Linked DNA regions of Homo sapiens: all the other regions are linked to region 1. Evidence: promoter capture Hi-C in 16 types of primary human blood cells and fetal thymus (Javierre and others, 2016). All regions are on one chromosome and are shown on one strand. Each heading gives the region's core, a stretch centred on a gene start or on the middle of the fragment in contact. The rest is flanking DNA. Distances are from core to core; before and after follow the strand shown.

Evidence for each region. The method cuts DNA at HindIII sites, captures the fragments that hold promoters and counts their contacts. A CHiCAGO score of 5 or more calls a contact.
Region 2: a fragment that was not itself captured here is called in contact with the fragment with the promoter of CXCR4 in region 1 in 11 of 17 cell types (activated CD4 T cells, monocytes, total CD4 T cells and 8 more); the score reaches 16.7 in activated CD4 T cells.
Region 3: a contact is called between the fragment with the promoter of MCM6 here and the fragment with the promoter of CXCR4 in region 1, in 1 of 17 cell types (fetal thymus). The highest score is 5.5, in fetal thymus.
Region 4: a fragment that was not itself captured here is called in contact with the fragment with the promoter of CXCR4 in region 1 in 11 of 17 cell types (total CD8 T cells, non-activated CD4 T cells, monocytes and 8 more); the score reaches 15.3 in total CD8 T cells.
Region 5: a contact is called between a fragment that was not itself captured here and the fragment with the promoter of CXCR4 in region 1, in 16 of 17 cell types (naive CD4 T cells, total CD4 T cells, naive CD8 T cells and 13 more). The highest score is 20.6, in naive CD4 T cells.
Region 6: a contact is called between a fragment that was not itself captured here and the fragment with the promoter of CXCR4 in region 1, in 10 of 17 cell types (activated CD4 T cells, total CD4 T cells, fetal thymus and 7 more). The highest score is 12.3, in activated CD4 T cells.
Region 7: a fragment that was not itself captured here is called in contact with the fragment with the promoter of CXCR4 in region 1 in 14 of 17 cell types (neutrophils, activated CD4 T cells, monocytes and 11 more); the score reaches 20.3 in neutrophils.

The regions. Positions count from the first base shown.
Region 1 is chr2:136,116,803-136,119,497 of GRCh38, reverse strand. CXCR4 (C-X-C motif chemokine receptor 4) reads left to right here and starts at 1,349. Exons shown (of 2, transcript NM_003467.3): 1 at 1,349-1,452. The coding sequence starts at 1,438. RefSeq lists an enhancer at 2,358-2,427 and a silencer at 2,558-2,695. The HindIII fragment of the contact is 7,141 bases long and covers 915-2,695 here.
Region 2 is chr2:136,358,300-136,360,994 of GRCh38, reverse strand. No RefSeq gene overlaps it. Among named protein-coding and RNA genes, the nearest start is that of CXCR4, 240 kb to the right of the region's middle. The HindIII fragment of the contact is 983 bases long and covers 842-1,824 here.
Region 3 is chr2:135,875,133-135,877,827 of GRCh38, reverse strand. MCM6 (minichromosome maintenance complex component 6) reads left to right here and starts at 1,385. Exons shown (of 17, transcript NM_005915.6): 1 at 1,385-1,569. The coding sequence starts at 1,463. RefSeq lists enhancers at 1,111-1,170, 1,861-1,990, 1,760-2,295 and a silencer at 1,631-1,790. The HindIII fragment of the contact is 12,304 bases long and covers 1-2,695 here.
Region 4 is chr2:136,332,257-136,334,951 of GRCh38, reverse strand. No RefSeq gene overlaps it. Among named protein-coding and RNA genes, the nearest start is that of CXCR4, 220 kb to the right of the region's middle. The HindIII fragment of the contact is 3,277 bases long and covers 1-2,695 here.
Region 5 is chr2:135,910,001-135,912,695 of GRCh38, reverse strand. It overlaps DARS1 (aspartyl-tRNA synthetase 1), which reads left to right. Exons shown (of 16, transcript NM_001349.4): 13 at 130-210; 14 at 1,203-1,314; 15 at 1,486-1,557. Among named protein-coding and RNA genes, the nearest start is that of MCM6, 35 kb to the right of the region's middle. The HindIII fragment of the contact is 7,312 bases long and covers 1-2,695 here.
Region 6 is chr2:136,314,029-136,316,723 of GRCh38, reverse strand. No RefSeq gene overlaps it. Among named protein-coding and RNA genes, the nearest start is that of CXCR4, 200 kb to the right of the region's middle. The HindIII fragment of the contact is 2,187 bases long and covers 235-2,421 here.
Region 7 is chr2:135,929,372-135,932,066 of GRCh38, reverse strand. The region is part of intron 7 of DARS1 (aspartyl-tRNA synthetase 1); the gene reads left to right. It overlaps LOC124906078 (a long non-coding RNA gene), which reads left to right. Exons shown (of 2, transcript XR_007087246.1): 1 at 1-1,585. Among named protein-coding and RNA genes, the nearest start is that of MCM6, 54 kb to the right of the region's middle. The HindIII fragment of the contact is 5,919 bases long and covers 1-2,695 here.

The sequences.
Region 1 (2,695 bases), core at 100-2,599:
GGGCAATCCCTCTCCTCGGGACCATTTCGGGGTGGGGGCCTCTGGGGTCCGTGTCGCGACGCACGCGCCTCGGTCCCAGCTATCTCCGCAGCGGCCACCCCGCCTGCGGACGCAGTTTCTCGGCCCCGCCCCACACTCGCTCCCCCGCCCCACCCAGTCTCCGCGCCGGAGGGAAGTGGCGCGAGGGGGAAAGCACTGTCTGCGCGCCCACTGCAAACCTCAGCCAGTCTGAGATCGCTTTAAACGTCTGACCCCCACCCCCACTCCGCCCCGCCCAGTTCTTCAACCTAATTTCTGATTCGTGCCAAAGCTTGTCCTCTGCTCAAAATCGTGGAAGACGCCGAGTATGGGGACCGAAGACCTGGGTTCAAGCCCGGCTTGGAATCCCTGCCCATCCCTGGCATTTCATCTCTCCGGGCTTATTTGCTGGTTTCTCCGAATGCGGGCCTTGTCTGGTTCACGCTGGATCCCCAACGCCTAGAACAGTGCGTGGCACGCAGTTCGTCCTTCTATAAATATCGGACTAAATGCATCTCTGTGATGGTAATACCCACACGGTGTTGTGAGAATGAATGAGTGATTCTGTGCAAGTTCCTAGTGATCTGTTACAAAAAGTACTGGTCGCTAAATTACTCTTATAATAAAGCATACTTTTAGGATAATAAAGCACTATTCGCGAATTGGTTACCGCTATTATGAAATTACTGAGCAATACATATCTACATCTGATCAGTCTCCAGAATTATGCCAAATCCTACCTTCTTCTGAAAGTATCTCCTAATTATCTGCACCTGACCCTAGTGATGCTGTGAATGTGCAAGTATAGCTACATCCTCCGAAGGAAGGATCTTTACTCCTTTTACCTCCTGAATGGGCTGCGTCTGCTGAAAGCGCGGGGAATGGCGTTGGAAGCTTGGCCCTACTTCCAGCATTGCCGCCTACTGGTTGGGTTACTCCAGCAAGTCACTCCCCTTCCCTGGGCCTCAGTGTCTCTACTGTAGCATTCCCAGGTCTGGAATTCCATCCACTTTAGCAAGGATGGACGCGCCACAGAGAGACGCGTTCCTAGCCCGCGCTTCCCACCTGTCTTCAGGCGCATCCCGCTTCCCTCAAACTTAGGAAATGCCTCTGGGAGGTCCTGTCCGGCTCCGGACTCACTACCGACCACCCGCAAACAGCAGGGTCCCCTGGGCTTCCCAAGCCGCGCACCTCTCCGCCCCGCCCCTGCGCCCTCCTTCCTCGCGTCTGCCCCTCTCCCCCACCCCGCCTTCTCCCTCCCCGCCCCAGCGGCGCATGCGCCGCGCTCGGAGCGTGTTTTTATAAAAGTCCGGCCGCGGCCAGAAACTTCAGTTTGTTGGCTGCGGCAGCAGGTAGCAAAGTGACGCCGAGGGCCTGAGTGCTCCAGTAGCCACCGCATCTGGAGAACCAGCGGTTACCATGGAGGGGATCAGTGTAAGTCCAGTTTCAACCTGCTTTGTCATAAATGTACAAACGTTTGAACTTAGAGCGCAGCCCCTCTCCGAGCGGGCAGAAGCGGCCAGGACATTGGAGGTACCCGTACTCCAAAAAAGGGTCACCGAAAGGAGTTTTCTTGACCATGCCTATATAGTGCGGGTGGGTGGGGGGGGAGCAGGATTGGAATCTTTTTCTCTGTGAGTCGAGGAGAAACGACTGGAAAGAGCGTTCCAGTGGCTGCATGTGTCTCCCCCTTGAGTCCCGCCGCGCGCGGCGGCTTGCACGCTGTTTGCAAACGTAAGAACATTCTGTGCACAAGTGCAGAGAAGGCGTGCGCGCTGCCTCGGGACTCAGACCACCGGTCTCTTCCTTGGGGAAGCGGGGATGTCTTGGAGCGAGTTACATTGTCTGAATTTAGAGGCGGAGGGCGGCGTGCCTGGGCTGAGTTCCCAGGAGGAGATTGCGCCCGCTTTAACTTCGGGGTTAAGCGCCTGGTGACTGTTCTTGACACTGGGTGCGTGTTTGTTAAACTCTGTGCGGCCGACGGAGCTGTGCCAGTCTCCCAGCACAGTAGGCAGAGGGCGGGAGAGGCGGGTGGACCCACCGCGCCGATCCTCTGAGGGGATCGAGTGGTGGCAGCAGCTAGGAGTTGATCCGCCCGCGCGCTTTGGGTTTGAGGGGGAAAACCTTCCCGCCGTCCGAAGCGCGCCTCTTCCCCACGGCCGCGAGTGGGTCCTGCAGTTCGAGAGTTTGGGGTCGTGCAGAGGTCAGCGGAGTGGTTTGACCTCCCCTTTGACACCGCGCAGCTGCCAGCCCTGAGATTTGCGCTCCGGGGATAGGAGCGGGTACGGGGTGAGGGGCGGGGGCGGTTAAGACCGCACCTGGGCTGCCAGGTCGCCGCCGCGAAGACTGGCAGGTGCAAGTGGGGAAACCGTTTGGCTCTCTCCGAGTCCAGTTGTGATGTTTAACCGTCGGTGGTTTCCAGAAACCTTTTGAAACCCTCTTGCTAGGGAGTTTTTGGTTTCCTGCAGCGGCGCGCAATTCAAAGACGCTCGCGGCGGAGCCGCCCAGTCGCTCCCCAGCACCCTGTGGGACAGAGCCTGGCGTGTCGCCCAGCGGAGCCCCTGCAGCGCTGCTTGCGGGCGGTTGGCGTGGGTGTAGTGGGCAGCCGCGGCGGCCCGGGGCTGGACGACCCGGCCCCCCGCGTGCCCACCGCCTGGAGGCTTCCAGCTGCCCACCT
Region 2 (2,695 bases), core at 84-2,583, 240 kb before region 1:
GCCTCCTGTCAGATCACAGGTGGCATTAGATTCTCATAGAGCGCAAAGCTGCACATGCGAGGGATCTAGGTTGTGCTTTCCTCATGAGAATCTAAGGCCTGCTGATCTGTCATTGTCTCCCATTACCCCTAGACAGGACCATCTAGTTGCAGGAAAACAAGCTTAGGGCTCCCACTGATTCTACCTGATGGTGAGTTGTATAATTATTTCATTTACACAGGCCAGGCGCAGTGGCTCACGCCTGCAATCCCAGCACTTTGGGAGGCCACGGCAGGCAGATCACTTGAGGTCAGGAGTTTGAGACCAGCCTGGCCAATGGGGTGAAACCCCGTCTCTACTAAAAATACAAAAATTCACTGGGCATAGTGGTGCATGCCTGTGGTCCCAGCTATGTGGGAGTCTGAAGTGGAAGAATTGCTTGAACCTGGGAAGCAGAGGTTGCAGTGAGTGGAGGTTGGTGCAATCTCGAGATTGGCTGCACTCCAGCCTGGGTGACAGAGAGAGACCCTGTCTCAAAAAAAAAGAAAGAAAAGAAAAAAAAAAAGAAAAGAAAAGAAAGCACAATAAATGTAATGCCCTTGAATCATCCTGAAACCATCCCCCCTCCCTGGGTCCATGGAAAAATTTTCTTCCATGAAACTGGTCCCTGGTGCCAAAAAGGTTAGGGACCACTAGTTTAGAGACCTGGGGCACCCACCTAGCAATCCCAATTTTTAAAAATAACATTCTGTGATATGAACAATTACCATCTCCTCACCTACTTAAAATGTGACTAAATGTCTTAAGAAATATTTCTTTATCAATTGGTAATATATAATCTAACCAATTTATTTTAAAAGCTTTAGACAGGTTCCTACTCTCTCACCCTCTTATAACTCAAAAATTACCATTCCTACATGTTCCTAGGTATAAATTCTAGAGCCTGCCAGAATTCTTACACTAGAAATAACTTTGAATATCAGCTGAAATTTGCTGCAAACATTCATGTTTGCATGCCAAGGTCACTAGTCAACCGATCTTAGATTTTCATATAAAAGACCCTCAAAGCGAACTCAGCAGATATCTCTACCAGCACAAAGCACTGGAAACACAACTTGCAAGAGTAAAGAGTTTAAAACCAAGGTTTAAAATAAAAAATGTATTCAACTTTACAGTAACAGCACCTAGGGCACATTACACCTGTATACATCACTCTCCACAGTATATCAGGAGGAGGTGGAGTTATAATAGCCTTACATGGTCTGAGGAAGAAACCTCAGCTATTTCACAATTTGCTGAGGCCCACCTGGGCAGAAACCACACTGATGTTTAAAAAAAAAAAATGGTGCATTATGCAAACCAAGATGGAAAAGATGAATCAAAGTAGGCTTTATTTGTAGGGCTGTTTGGGATATAATATTTCCTTCATAACTGAAAAATAGTCATGCTGCATGTCGGGGAGGAGTTACCAACAAAGCCAGCCTGATACCTCATACTTTCCATAAGGTACACATTCAAGCACAGAGCTTGATTCGTGGCTGTGAGGGTTATTTTCTCAGCTAGTCCATGCTCGCCTTTCTCACTCCACCTCTTAGCACTTGTCCAAAAGTCCTCAGCTTGCATTCTATGTGTTGGGTTGCTTATAGGTCCGGCACATATAAAGCTGATAGGCCCATTGCTAGGAATGCTTTTTCAGCTGTGCAAAGCTCTGTTGAGACCCACCAAGGCACTGCAGCCTTGGGCTGTTGGACTTGCTACTTGACTTTCAAAGCCATTCCCTCCCTTCCCAGGGAAGTTGCTTGTATACTTCACCCACCTCTGTCTGCAGAGCAAGCCTGGCAAGCTTCCCACCATCACTTTAAGGCCTTCAACCTTCAGCTCCTGCTCCACTTTTCCAGAATGGGTTGGAGCCCCTTGTCTGTGTTCCCTTTGTGCCCTACTTCTACCTTCTGTTGTCAACACTTGACAGAATCATATTGAGACTATACATTTGTATGTTGAATTTCAGCCCCATTTTATTTACCTCCTATCTTGGCTCCAACGTGTAAAACTATGACTAGTTTTGAATAGGTTCTCAATCATGTGTAGGTGAAGCCAATTTATGTCATTGTTGAAGCTCTCTGCCATCAAAGAAAAGTTTAGAAAGTAAAGTGAGGCCTGCAAGGGCCTGGGCAAACCCCAGCCAGACTGCCCACTGGGTGGGAACCCCCTCCCCCGAGGCCCACTGCTGCCATCCTCCACTCATGGTGAGCCATTGAGTTCTATCATAATAGCTGGTGGGGGAAGCCTGGCTTCATTGCAGCCTCACTTCCTGCTCTGCCTTTGCTCCTTTCTCAATGTTGAGAAAGGATGCCTGTTCTGATGGGAACATGCATCAGATTGGGAGTTACAGAGATTTGCTGTCCAGAGACTGACAGACAATGATGCTAAACAGGTCACAGCTCCTCTCTGCCCTCAGCTTATTCATTCTCAAAATGAGAGGACTGCCACTTCACACCCACTAAGATGGCTACAATAAAAAGACAGACAATAATAAGCATTGAGAGGATGTGGACGACGAACCCCCATATACTGCTGGTGAGAATGGAAAATGGTGCAGCCCCTTTGGAAAATAGTGGCAGTTTCTCAAAAAGTTAAACCTAGAGTCACCACAGGACCCAGAAATTCCACCCCTAGGTATATATCCAAGAAAAATGAAAAACGTCCAGATAGAAAC
Region 3 (2,695 bases), core at 136-2,635, 240 kb after region 1:
AGGGAGTGTAAAGGGTCGCCCAAGAGAGCGACTTTACGGGAAAAGAAGGCTCTGGAACCAGAACATTTAAAAGACTCACTGAAGGAGAGGCGCCTACAAAGGATGCTAATCAGGAATGGCCAAAGAGATGGCAGAAAAACCAAGTGAAATGGTTAGGGAAAGATGGGGGAAAAAAACATAAGGATAACTCAAGCCAATAGTGCATTTTAAGAAGGGTATTAAGGCCGGGCGCTGTGGCTCACGGCCGTAATCCCAGCGCTTTGGGAGGTCGAGGCAGACGGATCACCTGAGGTCAGGAGTTTGAGAGCAGCCTGGCCAACATGGCGAAAACCCTGTCTCTACTAAAAATACAAAAATTGGCTGGGCATGGTAGCGGGCGCCTACAATCCCAGCTATTCAGGAGGCTGAGGCAGGAGAATCCCCTGGACCCGGGAGCTGGAGGTTGCAGTGACCCGAGATCGCGCCACTGCTCTCGAGCCTGAGCGACTGGGTGAGACTTCATCTGAAAAAAAAAAGAAAAGAAAAAGAAAAAAAGATTAATCAAAGTGTCAAATATTTCTTTCTTTTTCTTTTTCTTTCTTTTTTTTTTTTTTTTTTTTGAGACGGAGTCACACTGTGTTGCCCAGGCTGGAGTGCAGTGACACGATCTCGGCCCACTGCAACCTCCTCCTCCCAGGTTCAAGCGATTCTCCTGCCTCGGCCACCCGAGTAGCTGGGATTACAGGCGTGCACCACCACGCCCGACTAATTTTTGTATTTTTAGGGGAGATGGGGTTTCTGCATGTTGGCCAGGGTGGTCTCGAACTCCTGACCTCAGGTGATCCACACGCCTCGGCCTCCCAAAGTGCTAGGATTACAGGTTGTGAGCCACCGCGCCCGGCCAATGTCAAATATTTCGCTGATTTTCCTCGGTCAGCACCACCACAATAATTGTGCCACCTTACCCATGCAAGGTTTAGACATCTCTTTGACTCTTTTACAGGGTTTTATACTGTGGTTTCCATTATTTCCTCTAACTAGACAGCAGAAGCGGCTTACTCATTTTTCTCTTCCATAGAGTCTTACTCCGATCGTTCAATTAATATCAGTGGAATGATTTAAAGAACATTTGAAAAACCACTCGGACAAAACCCTCAGATTCGAACTTGTTCCAGCAGCCAAAAATACCCGCGGGCCACGGCTACACTGCGCAGGCGCAAAGGCAGATGGGCTTTCTCCAGAAGGGCTTTGCATTTGGCGCGAAATCCCTTTCCGTGGGCTGGGGCTCTTGGAGAGGCGCCGTTCATTGGTCAGGTTTGGCGCGAAATCTCCAGCTCCTGTGTCACGATTGGTTCCGGCCGTGCAGGTCGGAAGAGGGGGCGGGGCGGAAGCGGCGGCGGCGCGCGCAAAGCTGCAGCGTCTGGAAAAAAGCGACTTGTGGCGGTCGAGCGTGGCGCAGGCGAATCCTCGGCACTAAGCAAATATGGACCTCGCGGCGGCAGCGGAGCCGGGCGCCGGCAGCCAGCACCTGGAGGTCCGCGACGAGGTGGCCGAGAAGTGCCAGAAACTGTTCCTGGACTTCTTGGAGGAGTAAGTCGGCGAGCGCCCCGGGCCTCGCCCGCCTCCGGAGCCTGCGGCGTCTGGGCCAGGCGGTGCCGTGTGGGCGGCGGGTGTTCCGGAACCTGGGGGTCGCGCGTCCGGGAAGCGCCTCCCCGCCCGCCCCCCAACTTTAGGCTCCGAGCCCGGCGGCCGCGAGGAGCCTGGGACAGGCTGGGTTTTTCTGGAGTAAAACCCATCTCGAGCCCTAAGACGCTCGTGCCCAGTGCTCAGCGCTTTGCTTCTGTCACTTGATGCTCACCACCCCGCGAGCCTGGTATTTGCACAGCCCTCGGTGACCGGCGCGGAAACCTGGGCTCGCTGAGTATAGTAACTGGGCCGCTGGGTGCGGCCAGGTCGAGTGGGAGGCCGAAGTGCCATTGAATCTCGTCGGTGCCCTGCTGGGCCACGCAGCCGGGAGCATGGTGCTGGGGGTTCGCAGGGCACGGGCCACCCTCGCCTCTTGTGCTGATGAAAGTTTCTGCGTCAACTGTGGTTTGAAAGCTGCTGGGGGGCGGAGCCCTGCCCTGCAGAGAGTAGCTCACCATATCCCTTCTTCTGGGTCCCTTGCTCCCCTTTCCCTCTGGCCTTCCTTTCCTTTCTCTACTCTTCTTTTTTTCTGTGCCTCTGGGCTCCTAGCTTCATAACCCCAACCTCCTCCCTGGCTTGCCTCACCCACCGGTTATTTTTCCTGGAGCAGATACACCACGGCCTCCAGGATGAAGGGTCAGCAGTTTGGAATGGCTTTTGAAGTTCTTTTTTAGTAAAATATACATAACAAAGTTGACCATTTTAGCCATTTTTAAGTGTAGAGTCCAGTGGCACTAAGTGCATTCACCTCGTTGTGCAGCCGTCACCACTCTCCCATCTCCAAACTTTTTTTTTTTTGAGGCGTAATTTAGCCCTTGTTGCCCAGGCCGGAGTGCAGTGTCACCATCTCAGCTCACCGCAACCTCCGTCTCCCGGGTTCAAGCTATTCTCCTGCCTCAGCCTCCCTACTAGCTGGAATTACAGGCATGCGCCACCACGCCCGGCTAATTTGGTATTTTAGTAGAGATGGGGTTTCTCCATGTTGGTCAGGCTGGTCTTGAACTCCCGACCTCAGGTGATCCCCCCGCCT
Region 4 (2,695 bases), core at 71-2,570, 220 kb before region 1:
GTTTAAAAGTGTATAGCACTTTCCCCACCTCTCTCTTGCTCCTGCTCCCACCATGTGAGATGCCTTGCTCCCCCTTTGCCTTTGCCATGATTGTAAGTTTCCAGAGGCCTCCCCAAAAGCCAAGCAGATGCCACCATGTTTCCTGCACAGCCCGCAGAACTGTGCGCCAATCAAACCTCTTTTTGTTATAAATTACCCAGTCTCAGGTATTTCTTTACAGCAGTGCAAGGACATACTAATACACACACAGATGCTATGTAAACAGATATGGGCAACACTCGTATTCACAGTGATAAATAAGATTCCAGGGATTAGGATGTTGATACATCATTTTAGGGGGCCTTATTCATCAATATGAATATGAGTGTTACCTTATTTGGAAAAAGACTCTTTGCAGATGTAATGAAGGATCTTCAGATAAAGAGATTATCCTAGATTAGCCAGGTAGACCCTAAGTCTAATGATAAATGTCCTTATGAGAAAGAGGCAGTGGCAGATTACACCTACCGAAGAGGAAGAGGTAATGTCAAGACAGGCAGAGGTTAGAGCAATGCCACTGCAAGCCAAGGAATGCCTGGAGCCACCAGAAGCTAGAAGAGTCAGGGAACAAATTCTTCCCTAGAGCCTCTGGAGGGAACACATCTCTGCTGATACTTTAATCTTGGACTTGTGGCCTCCAGAGCTGAAAGAGGATACATTTCTGCTGTTTTAAGCCACCAAGTTTACAGAAATTTCTTATGTCAGTCACAGGAAACTAATATAATTGATAATAGTAATGGTATGTTAGTCCACCTGAAGATGCTAGAAATAGGCCCTCACTGGTCAACTATGAAGACTAATTGAAATAATTGAGAGATACTCATCATCTTTGCATACACTGAGTATAAGAATCTAGCAAAGACCTTCAGCTTGGACATGTAGGTACAGCACAGAGACTTAATCTACCAACAATCCCTTGCTGAGCTATTGGTCTGGAAAATTCCAGTTGCTTGAACTATTGGTCTGGAAAAATCCAGTTGCTTTTGTCCCTATAAATGGACAAAAATCCTGCCTATGGTATAATATTAAATCCGTATTGAGTGAATCTTGCATAGCAGGTAGTGTTCCAAACACCTAGGAGGACAGAGAGCTGGAACTCTGAGTATATAAGAGCCAGTAGCAGGAAGAGTGTGTTTTCTGCTTGCTAAAACATGCTAGTTCAGTGCTGTGGGACAGCATTTGATGGGAGTGAGCTAATGTTGGCTACTGTTACTTTGCAAAGAGAACTTAAGACTGGTGTGTGCTATGGTTTGAATGTGTCCCCTCCAAAATTCAGGTGACCCCAGGGCAACAATATTGGGAGGAAAAGCCTTTGGAAAGTAACTAATTATAGCTCTTCCCTCGTGAATGGAATTAGGTGCCCTTATAAAAGGACTTGACAGAGTTTGCTCCTCTTTGCCCTTCTTCCTCTGCCAGGTGAAGACACAGCACACCCCTCTGGAGGATGCGGCATTCAAGGTGTCAGTGTGGAGCAGAGGCCAGACCCTCATCAGACAATGAACCTGCCAGTGCCTTGGTCTTGGACTTCCCAGCCTCCAGAACTGCGAGAAATTTCTGTTCTTTATAAATTACCCAGTCTCAGGTATTCTGTTATAGCAACACAAAATGGATTAAGTGTGTGACCCAAGCAGCTTAGATGAGTTCTACAAATGCCCAAGGGTCTCAAGAATCCTGGAACACTGGGACACCCTGTCATCACTCACCCTGGTGAGCAAGCAGATGCCCACTGTCAAGGTCTCCATGGTCCCTTGAGTCAGGTGGCTGGGTTACTCTCTTCCCAAGTGGGAGTCTGATGGCCTTTGCTATTGCTGGGAACACAGGTGCCTGGAGTCTTCCTCCCTGGTTTGCTACCAGCCTTTCCCCTCTGAGTCTCCCCAGGGAGAAACTCACAGGTCCATACTGCTTTCAGCCAGCCCCCTCTGTTGCCTTTCAGGTCTCTAGAAGCTGTTGTCTCTCAGATTCCACCCTCCTCCCCCATCCTACGCTCCTCTCTCCCCTCTTCCTCCTGGACCCCAGCCACAATCTTGCCCAAGACATTATGCCAAGAGACTTCCACAAAAGCTGAGGGCAGAGCTGTCCTCTGTCAACCTCACCCATAGGAGAAAGCACAATCGTGTGGGCTAGCCCCCTTGGAGTGAGGAGAAGGGAAAAATTCTGGAAGAATATTTATACAATGAAGAAATTAAATTTTCCTGACACAGATGCAAAGTGCTCACACAGTGCTAGCTACACACTCCATGAGTCCTATTAACACCTGTCAACATCCATCAGGTCACACCGCCTATGAATGGTGTGTATGCATGGGCAACCACACATCTGTTTGGCTCAGTCAAACATCCTCAGAGCCTAGCAGAGTTCCTGGCACATGGTGGGCACTTAATAAACATTGTTCAAAAATAATTAGTTATTTCACAAATGAACATTCCAGAGTTTTCTAGCAACTTGTGCAAAGTTAAAGACATGATGAGATACAAGATCTACAATGTGGATAAAAACCAAACAGTTGCTAAAGAAAAATACAACTACTTCTTTTGCTGACACCAGAGTGAAACCTCCCACATTTATCTTCATAGACATATTTTTATTCTTTCTACTTTTCTGCATTTTCCAAAATGTCTATAATGAGCAGACCATAATTGTATTTGTTGAAAAATAA
Region 5 (2,695 bases), core at 70-2,569, 210 kb after region 1:
ATTCATTGTATATACAATATAATTAGAGTAATTACGAAGAACCAAAATTTTTGTATAAAGTTAATTACCAAAATGTTAGCCATTTTACTTTTTAAAAATGTATTTTAATTGCATTTATTCTTTTTATAGTATGATACAGATTTTTATATTCTTGATAAATATCCATTGGCTGTAAGACCTTTCTATACCATGCCTGACCCAAGAAATCCCGTAAGTAATTTGGTTTTAAGTAACCCATTTTGAGGCAGAAGGGAAATTTTATTGTCACTGTCAGATTGTATAATAGGAATAATGGTTTTCATTAATAATTTGCAGTTTTGATAGACATACGTATTACCATTGATGTCTGTCACCACTGGTCAAAATGATATTGTAAAATTTGAATATTCTAGAAAATTAGTTTTAAAAACCTATGTTAAAATCATTTTACTTGGTCATTTTTCTGAAGATTTATGAGAGAGAAAGACTATGTAAATTATAAATAGTACTACTAGATTTGCATACTTTAGTAAATCATCCTGTCATTGACCTTAAACTGGGAATTCACATTGTATCCTGGGAGTTAATAATCTAAATAATGTCTTACGGTCTTTTACCGTTTTTCCATTGCAGTGGTTTCTAAACTTTACCATGCATCAGAATCACCTGGAGGGCTTTTTAAAACACCAGTTGCTGAGGCAGAATTTCTCATTAGTTGCTGTGGAATGGGAGCCTGATAATTTGCAGGCCCCACTCCAGACCAAGTAAAAAATTTCTGGTAATACTGAAGCTACTGGTCCAGGAATCACACTTTGGGAACCACTGGTTTATTGAAAGACAGGGGATTAAAGTAAAAATAATAATAATTTAAAGACTCACACCTGTTAATAACTTGGAGTTCCAAAAGTCACCCCAAAATAATATCATTCTTAAAAACATCTCAGATGATAAAGTGAAATAAGGATCAGCACTGCTTCTTAAAAATTAGATGTGATGCTCTGATTTGTTATTGGGGGGTGTGGGAGGAGAGCACAGAATCTGATATAAACAAAGAAAAAGTTATTCAGCCCTCAGTAGTTTAATTCTACTTTAGAGAACAAGATTGCATTGTTAATTGTAGGAAAAAATGAACTTGCTCTTCATGCAGCAGAGATTTTTTTCCGTATATATGTAATAGAAATAGGATGGTAGTCACTTGAGGACTGGTGTTTTTTCTCTTGCAGAAACAGTCCAACTCTTACGATATGTTCATGAGAGGAGAAGAAATATTGTCAGGAGCTCAAAGAATACATGATCCTCAACTGCTAACAGAGAGAGCTTTACATCATGGAATTGGTAAACAACTTAAAATAATTTAGGGGAGTGTATATTCTGAAAATAATACATTGTAAACATTTAAAAGACTTCTCAGTCTTTTTAAAAATCTCCATTGAACAGTAATTGCTTTTGTGACCTTTTAAGATAAATAAGATGATAAATTATATTTTGTTTTGTGTCTTTTTGCAGATTTGGAGAAAATTAAGGCTTACATTGATTCCTTCCGCTTTGGAGCCCCTCCTCATGCTGGTGGAGGCATTGGTAATATTCTGTTATTGCTTACAAATAAGTTCATAAGTTCTAAGTATAATACAAATTTGAATTACAAGAATTTTTAAAAGTGAATTACGACATAAGTGAAAATTTGATTTCCAAGAAACAAAATAAACAGCTAACTTGTGTGTTATAAAATATTATTGTCATAAAGTTCTAGCCATTTTTTTTCTCTTAAGAATTTAGAAGCCAAATGTCTTGTAAGTGGAGTATCCTGTTTTCTCTCTGCTGCTGTGAGTTCATTCGCATTAGCACAAATTAAAGCTCTACCTTAAAATAGCTCAAAGAGCTGCTAAGTGTTTTTATTGAGATGCAGCACTTGATTCACTTTAAGATCACTTCTACAGTATATGTAAGGGACTGCTCTGCAATTTAAAATGAGCAAATATTTAACTCATCTTTGGATGTCCATATCAAACACTCTTAAAAAATTTTTTGAATGTATAGTTTCATTGAAGTTTTTATTTGTTGTTTGTTTTGGGGTTTTTTGGAAAATACAAAATGTACTTACAAAATTTTCAAATTAAAATTGGTCGAGAGACAGTTTTTTCAACAGATGGTACAGAAAAAACTAATGTCCATTTGCAGAAGATTGAAATTAGACCCTTACCTAACATCATATACAAAAATTAACTCAAAATGGATCAAAGGCCTAAATGTAAAACCTACATATAAATGGCCAATAGGTATATGAAAAAATGCTCAACATCACTAAACATTAGGGAAATATAAATTAAAACCTCAATGAGATAACCATCTCACACCTCTGGCTGTTAGTAAAAAGGTAATGGATAATTGTTGGTAAGGATGTGGAGAAAAGGGAATCCTTGTTTGTAAATAGTTGATGGGAATGTAAAATTGGTACAGCCATTATGAAAAACAGGATGGAGATTCTTCTAAACATTACAAAGAGAATTACCATATGATTCAGAAATTCCATTTCTGGTCTTACATACCAAGGGAAATGAAATCAGCATGTTGAAGAGATTTGTGCACTCTGATGTTCAATGCAGCATTATTTACAATAGCCAAGATATAGAAATGACCTTAGTGTCCATCAGTGGATGAATGGATAAAGAAAGTATAGATTGAGTATCCCTTATCCAAAATGCTTGGGACCAGAAGT
Region 6 (2,695 bases), core at 79-2,578, 200 kb before region 1:
AGGGAGACCATCTCTTGTGATTCTTAAGCTAATATCTTTAAAAAAAAAAGAATTTTCAAATGTCATAGAATTTACACATTAAAAACTTATATTCTCAGAACTTTCAACAAGTGAAAATGTAGCATGATTGTTGTTTTCTCCGTGTGTTGTAAACTTGAATGCCTTTAGAACTAAATAGAGGGCTCTCAGATGCAGAAGAGAGCATAGTCATCTACAGAGAAAAGAGAAGAAGCTTTTGAAGCAATGAATGCCATGACAATTTCAAAACTGGAACAAGCCAGCAACTTCACAAAGTATTTTATCAAGCCAAACCAAAATATCAGCCACCCCATGTAACACCAGGAAATGTTGTGAGGCATCTGACAGAGCACACAGCCTTTTGAAAATCTCATGTGCACCTGCCTTTCCTCTGACTCTCTCTGCCTAAAGAAAGTTTAGGGTCCTATACATCATCCTCTTGCTTGACAATGTCTGGGAGTTCATGAGTTCTTAATCCTCTGTCACTGGAACAGACTTAGAGCATCCCAATCAGTAGTTCTGGAATACAGCTGGTATAGAATGAATCATAGAATTTTAAGAAAATGTAAGGTTCTGGACCAAAACCCCGGAGATTCTGCCATGGTAGGTTTGAGGGCGTCTCCAAGCAATTTCAATGATCACACAGATTTCAGAACCAAGCCTCTCAATCCTTGACTGTAAAGCTGATTAATTTTATAAATCTATTAATTATTGTTATAAATTTATGTTACACGCACACACAATTTGCAGGAGGGAAAAGCCAATATATTCAGGATAGGGAATTAGAACAGTTTTTATCTCTCTCTGTCTGAGTTTCACCAAATTCAGAGCCTGAGACAGGGACTTGCACACAGGTAGTTTATGTTAGGAAGTGATCCCAGGAAACAGGCATGATTGACTAGGAAGAACAGAGCAGAGGGAAAGGGAAAGCCTATACTGGCATTCATTTTCAAGCTGATCATCTCTATGAATTCCTGAGGACCAGTCCCACTGGGGATTCTCTGAGGATCTGTATAAAATCTACCTTGGATATGTCCATCTGAAGAAAAGAATATAGGGGCATTTATCCACAGGGTTCTGTCATCCCTGGTCTAGGGTTGCCCCGAAGGGTAGTAATACCTTCAAATGTCCAGGTGTTTTTGTTTTTGTTTTGAGATGAAGTTTTGCTCTTGTTGCCCAGGCTGGAGTGCAATGGCATGATCTTGGCTCACCGCAACCTCCGCCTCCTGGGTTCAAGCGATTCTCCTGCCTCGGCCTCCTGAGTAGCTGGGATTACAGGCATGTGCCACCACACCCGGCTAATTTTGTATTTTTAGTAGAGACAGGGTTTCTCCATGTTGGTCAGGCTGGTCTTCAACTCCTGACCTCAGGTCATCCACCCACCTCGGCCTCCCAAAGTGCTGGGATTATAGGCGTGAGCCACTGCTGTCCAGGTTTTTTAATGTATCAGAATGGCTGGACATCTCCCATCACAGTAGCCGAGAAGTCCCATGGCAGAAAGCAAGAGAAGTGAGGAATGTTTGAAGAAAGGTGTTCTCAGAATATACCTGCATGAGCTGGTTGCTATAGCAATGTTGAAATTAAAAAGGTGGGCCAAGACTGGGTGCGGTAGCTCACACCTATAGTCCTGGCACTTTGGGAGGCCGAGGCAGGTGTGTCGCTTGAGCCCAGGAGTTTGAGAACAGCCTGGACAACATGGCACAATCCCGTCTCTATGAAAAAAAAAAAATACAAAATTTAGCCGGGCATTGTGGTACACACCTGTGGTTCCAGCTACTCCAGAGGCTGAGGTGGGAGGATTGCTTGAGTCTGGGAGGTGGAGGTTGCAGTGAACCATTATTGTGCCACTGCACTCCAGCCTGGGCAACAGAGTGAGACGCCTTCTGGAAAGGAAAGGAGAGGAAAGAGGAGAGAGGAGAGGAGAGGAGGGGAGGGGACCGGAGGGGAGGGGAGGGAAGGGGAGAGGAGGGGAGGGAAGGGGAGAGGAGGGGAGGGGAGGGAAGGGGAGAGGAGGGGAGGGAAGGGGAGAGGAGGGGAGGGAAGGGGAGAGGAGGGGAGGGAAGGGGAGAGGAGGGGAGGGAAGGGGAGAGGAGGGGAGGGAAGGGAAGGGGAGAGGAGGGGAGGGGAGGGGGAAGAAAAAAAACAAAAGAAAAGAAAAGAGAAAGAAGAGAAGGGAAAGGGAAGGAAGGGGAAGGGGAAGGGAAAGGGAAAGGGAAGGAAGGGGAAGGGAAAGGAGAGAAAAGGTGGTCCAACATGATATGAAGCAGGGCACATAAGCTGCCCAGTGCAGTCCACCCCTCACACTGCCCAGCTTTGCTCAACCCTATGTTAAGTCCAAACTATCACAGAATCTTCAAGGTGGTGGCCAGCTGAAACCTCTATCAAAACCTTCAAACCCAAGCTTCTGTGGTAGAGATCCTAGTTCCTGCTGATGCAGCTGATCCTAAAGCCATATCTGATATTTTTCATCTTCTTTCTGAATCACATGTTTTAGCTTTCCCTCCCCCTCAGCTAACACTATAGTGAACCCAGGCCATCATGCTCAAAGAATCTGAACCTTCAGTTTCTTTACTGATTTGGGGCTGTGCTTCTTGACCTTGTCCATTAACAGTTAATACCAGGCTTTGGAAGCTCCTAGAGACACCCAAGGAATTCCTTTAGTTCAAGATATATTCCT
Region 7 (2,695 bases), core at 72-2,571, 190 kb after region 1:
TCTACCTTTTCCATTTTAATTTGTATATGAAAAGCAAGCAGTAATCCAAAGTCCTCTTGATACTACCTAGAAACCTCAGGTTTTTCATGTATGTTGGCCACAGGAGTGAGACATCATTCTTTATTTATTTGCCCTTGCTAGTTGTTCACACAAGTTATTATTGGTTTGTGCCTCTAGAATTTGACCTGAGGAGTTTTTGGGTTTTGGGTTGTATTGTTTTGTTTAAATTCATTGCCACCATTGAAAAATGGGTTTTCACATTAAAATCTGGATGGCACTTCTTAAAAAGAGGAGAATCTGGAACATGAGCTAGCATGCTAGATAGGACATATACAGGATTCTTACACTGTCTTTTGCTTTGCCCTGCACCACCCAGCAAATATCATTCATTTCATTCATTCATGTTATTTGGCCCTTGCAAGCGTTCACATGCTTAACTCTTACTTTGACTTTACATTTTGGGAGATGTTGTGTACATTAGTAACTTTAAGTTTTTAAGCACCTTCGTTTCCTTCTAAACTACTGTCTTGGTTTGGTGCAGTGTCTCACACCTGTAATCCCAACACTTTGGGAGCCTGAGGTGGGAAGAATGCTTGAGCACACGAGTTTAAAACCAGCCTGGGCAACATGGCAAGACCCCTGTCTCCTTAAAAAATTTAAAAATTAGCCAAGTATGATGGCATGCATCTGTGGTCCCAGCTACTCAGGAGGCTGAAGCAGGAGGATTGCTTGAGCCCAGGAGGTTGAGTCTGCAGTGAGCTATGTTTGTACCACTGCACTCCAGTCTGGGCAACAGAGCAAGATCCTGTCTCAACAAATAAAAAATAAACTACTATCTAATTTAGTCCCCAACTAGCTCTTTCATAGACTCTCAGCAAAGTCAAGGGCTAAAGAATTTGGAAATAAAAGGCAAAATTGCCATTCTTCTTCTATAATACAAACGTTCTAAGATATATCCTCCGTCAGGTTCTAGTGTAGCCTGACTTTTTTCTCGTATATGAATGGTTTTCTCTCTGAACTTTACAGGCAGGTGCCCTGATTAAAAATACTTCACCTTCCAGCCCCCAAGAAGGTTAAAGCAATTTTCATTCCTAGAAAAGTGAATTAAAATGTCTTTGGCACCCTTTTCATACATAGCACTCACATAACTCATATTCCAGATTGGCACGGCAAATTAGCTTCATCCTCATAGGTTAGCAGGTTGTTAGGAGGGTTTTCTCAGAATCTATTCAGGAGAGTTCCCTTTAGATCAGAATTGTCCCCTTTATTTCACCTCACTCTTAGGTACAGGTGAAGGTTGTCCTAGGAGTAAATGTTAGTCTTCCCTCTTGAGAATCATTGTTTAAGTACTTTTCCCAAATACAAATGGATTCGTTGGTTCAAAATTAGTCTATTTCTTTTATTTCTTTATCTAGACCCCCTGTACTATAGCTAGTCTACAAAATATTTATTATGTTCGTATTACAGGTTTCTTATACTGTGGAATATGTATTGGTCATCTTCAAAGAACACATCATTTTGTTGGGGAGATAAGACTAGTAGTGTGAGGTCTCCTTAATAGGGATGCCCTCCCTTGGGTTGCCAGGTAAGCATAGAAACTGAGCCATCTTTAAAGGTGAATCATCAGCTCTTTTTTGCCACTTGGTTTCACATGCCAAGGGGATAGACAATTCAGGACTCATGGGCATCCTAACCCTTGAGACCCCATGGCATTCCTAAAGTTCTCTTTGTTTGCTAATACACCACATTATCCTCAATGCTACCTCTGAAATCACACTATCAAATAGCCCCTACTATGTAATTCTGTAACTTTTTTTCCTGAATGTTTAGGTCTATTTTGGCATGCAGGGATTAAGAAAATAGCTATCTGAGCATATATTTTATAGTTCACTAATGAACCCTACTTTGACCCTGTGGGTTAATGAATGAAAAGTATCTGCTATTATGGTGTGGTTTCATCTTATCAATTACATATTTTTGTTTTGAAATTTGTCACCTTTGTCTTCACCATTCTTTTCTCTTGGACAGACTGTTAGCCCCTTAACTCATGTACTTGCCTTGACTTAAGTTACCAGTCTGTCCAAGAGAAAAGAATTACATTCATGGCAAATGCCCCCAGTCAGGCACAACATACCATATACATAATATTCTTGATGAGCTTAAAGTAGCCACACAGCACTCAGGGCAGCCTCCACTAACTGATTGGAAATAAGCCTATTTGCCATATCTCCCTGAAACTTTCTATTAACAAAGCCACAAAACGCTTAAACAAAGAAAAATTAGATAATATCAATAGCCCATCTTCTAACACATTGCCTAGCTCATTACTTTCAATACATATTTTCCAAACTAAAAATTAAAATCTCAACTCTTTAAGAGAAGTTTCGTAATTTTGTAGTATAAGAGATTATCCTGGCAATATAGTTTTAATGCCAATATATTGAAACTTACATGACATTTCAGTGGTTTTGCAGTGTTTTCCCAAGTATGGTACCTTTACCACTGAAGGTACACAGTGATTTCTGGGTGTTAAACAGATGAACATTTTTTATTTTAATAGCTATACAATATAACCAGCAAATAAAATCCATGTTTTCATGGATATTATTGCTTAGAGTTAGTTAAGTTTTAAAATGTGATTTAAAGGAAAATATTAAGTACTAGTACAAGAGATACCCAGTATGACAGAAATGAT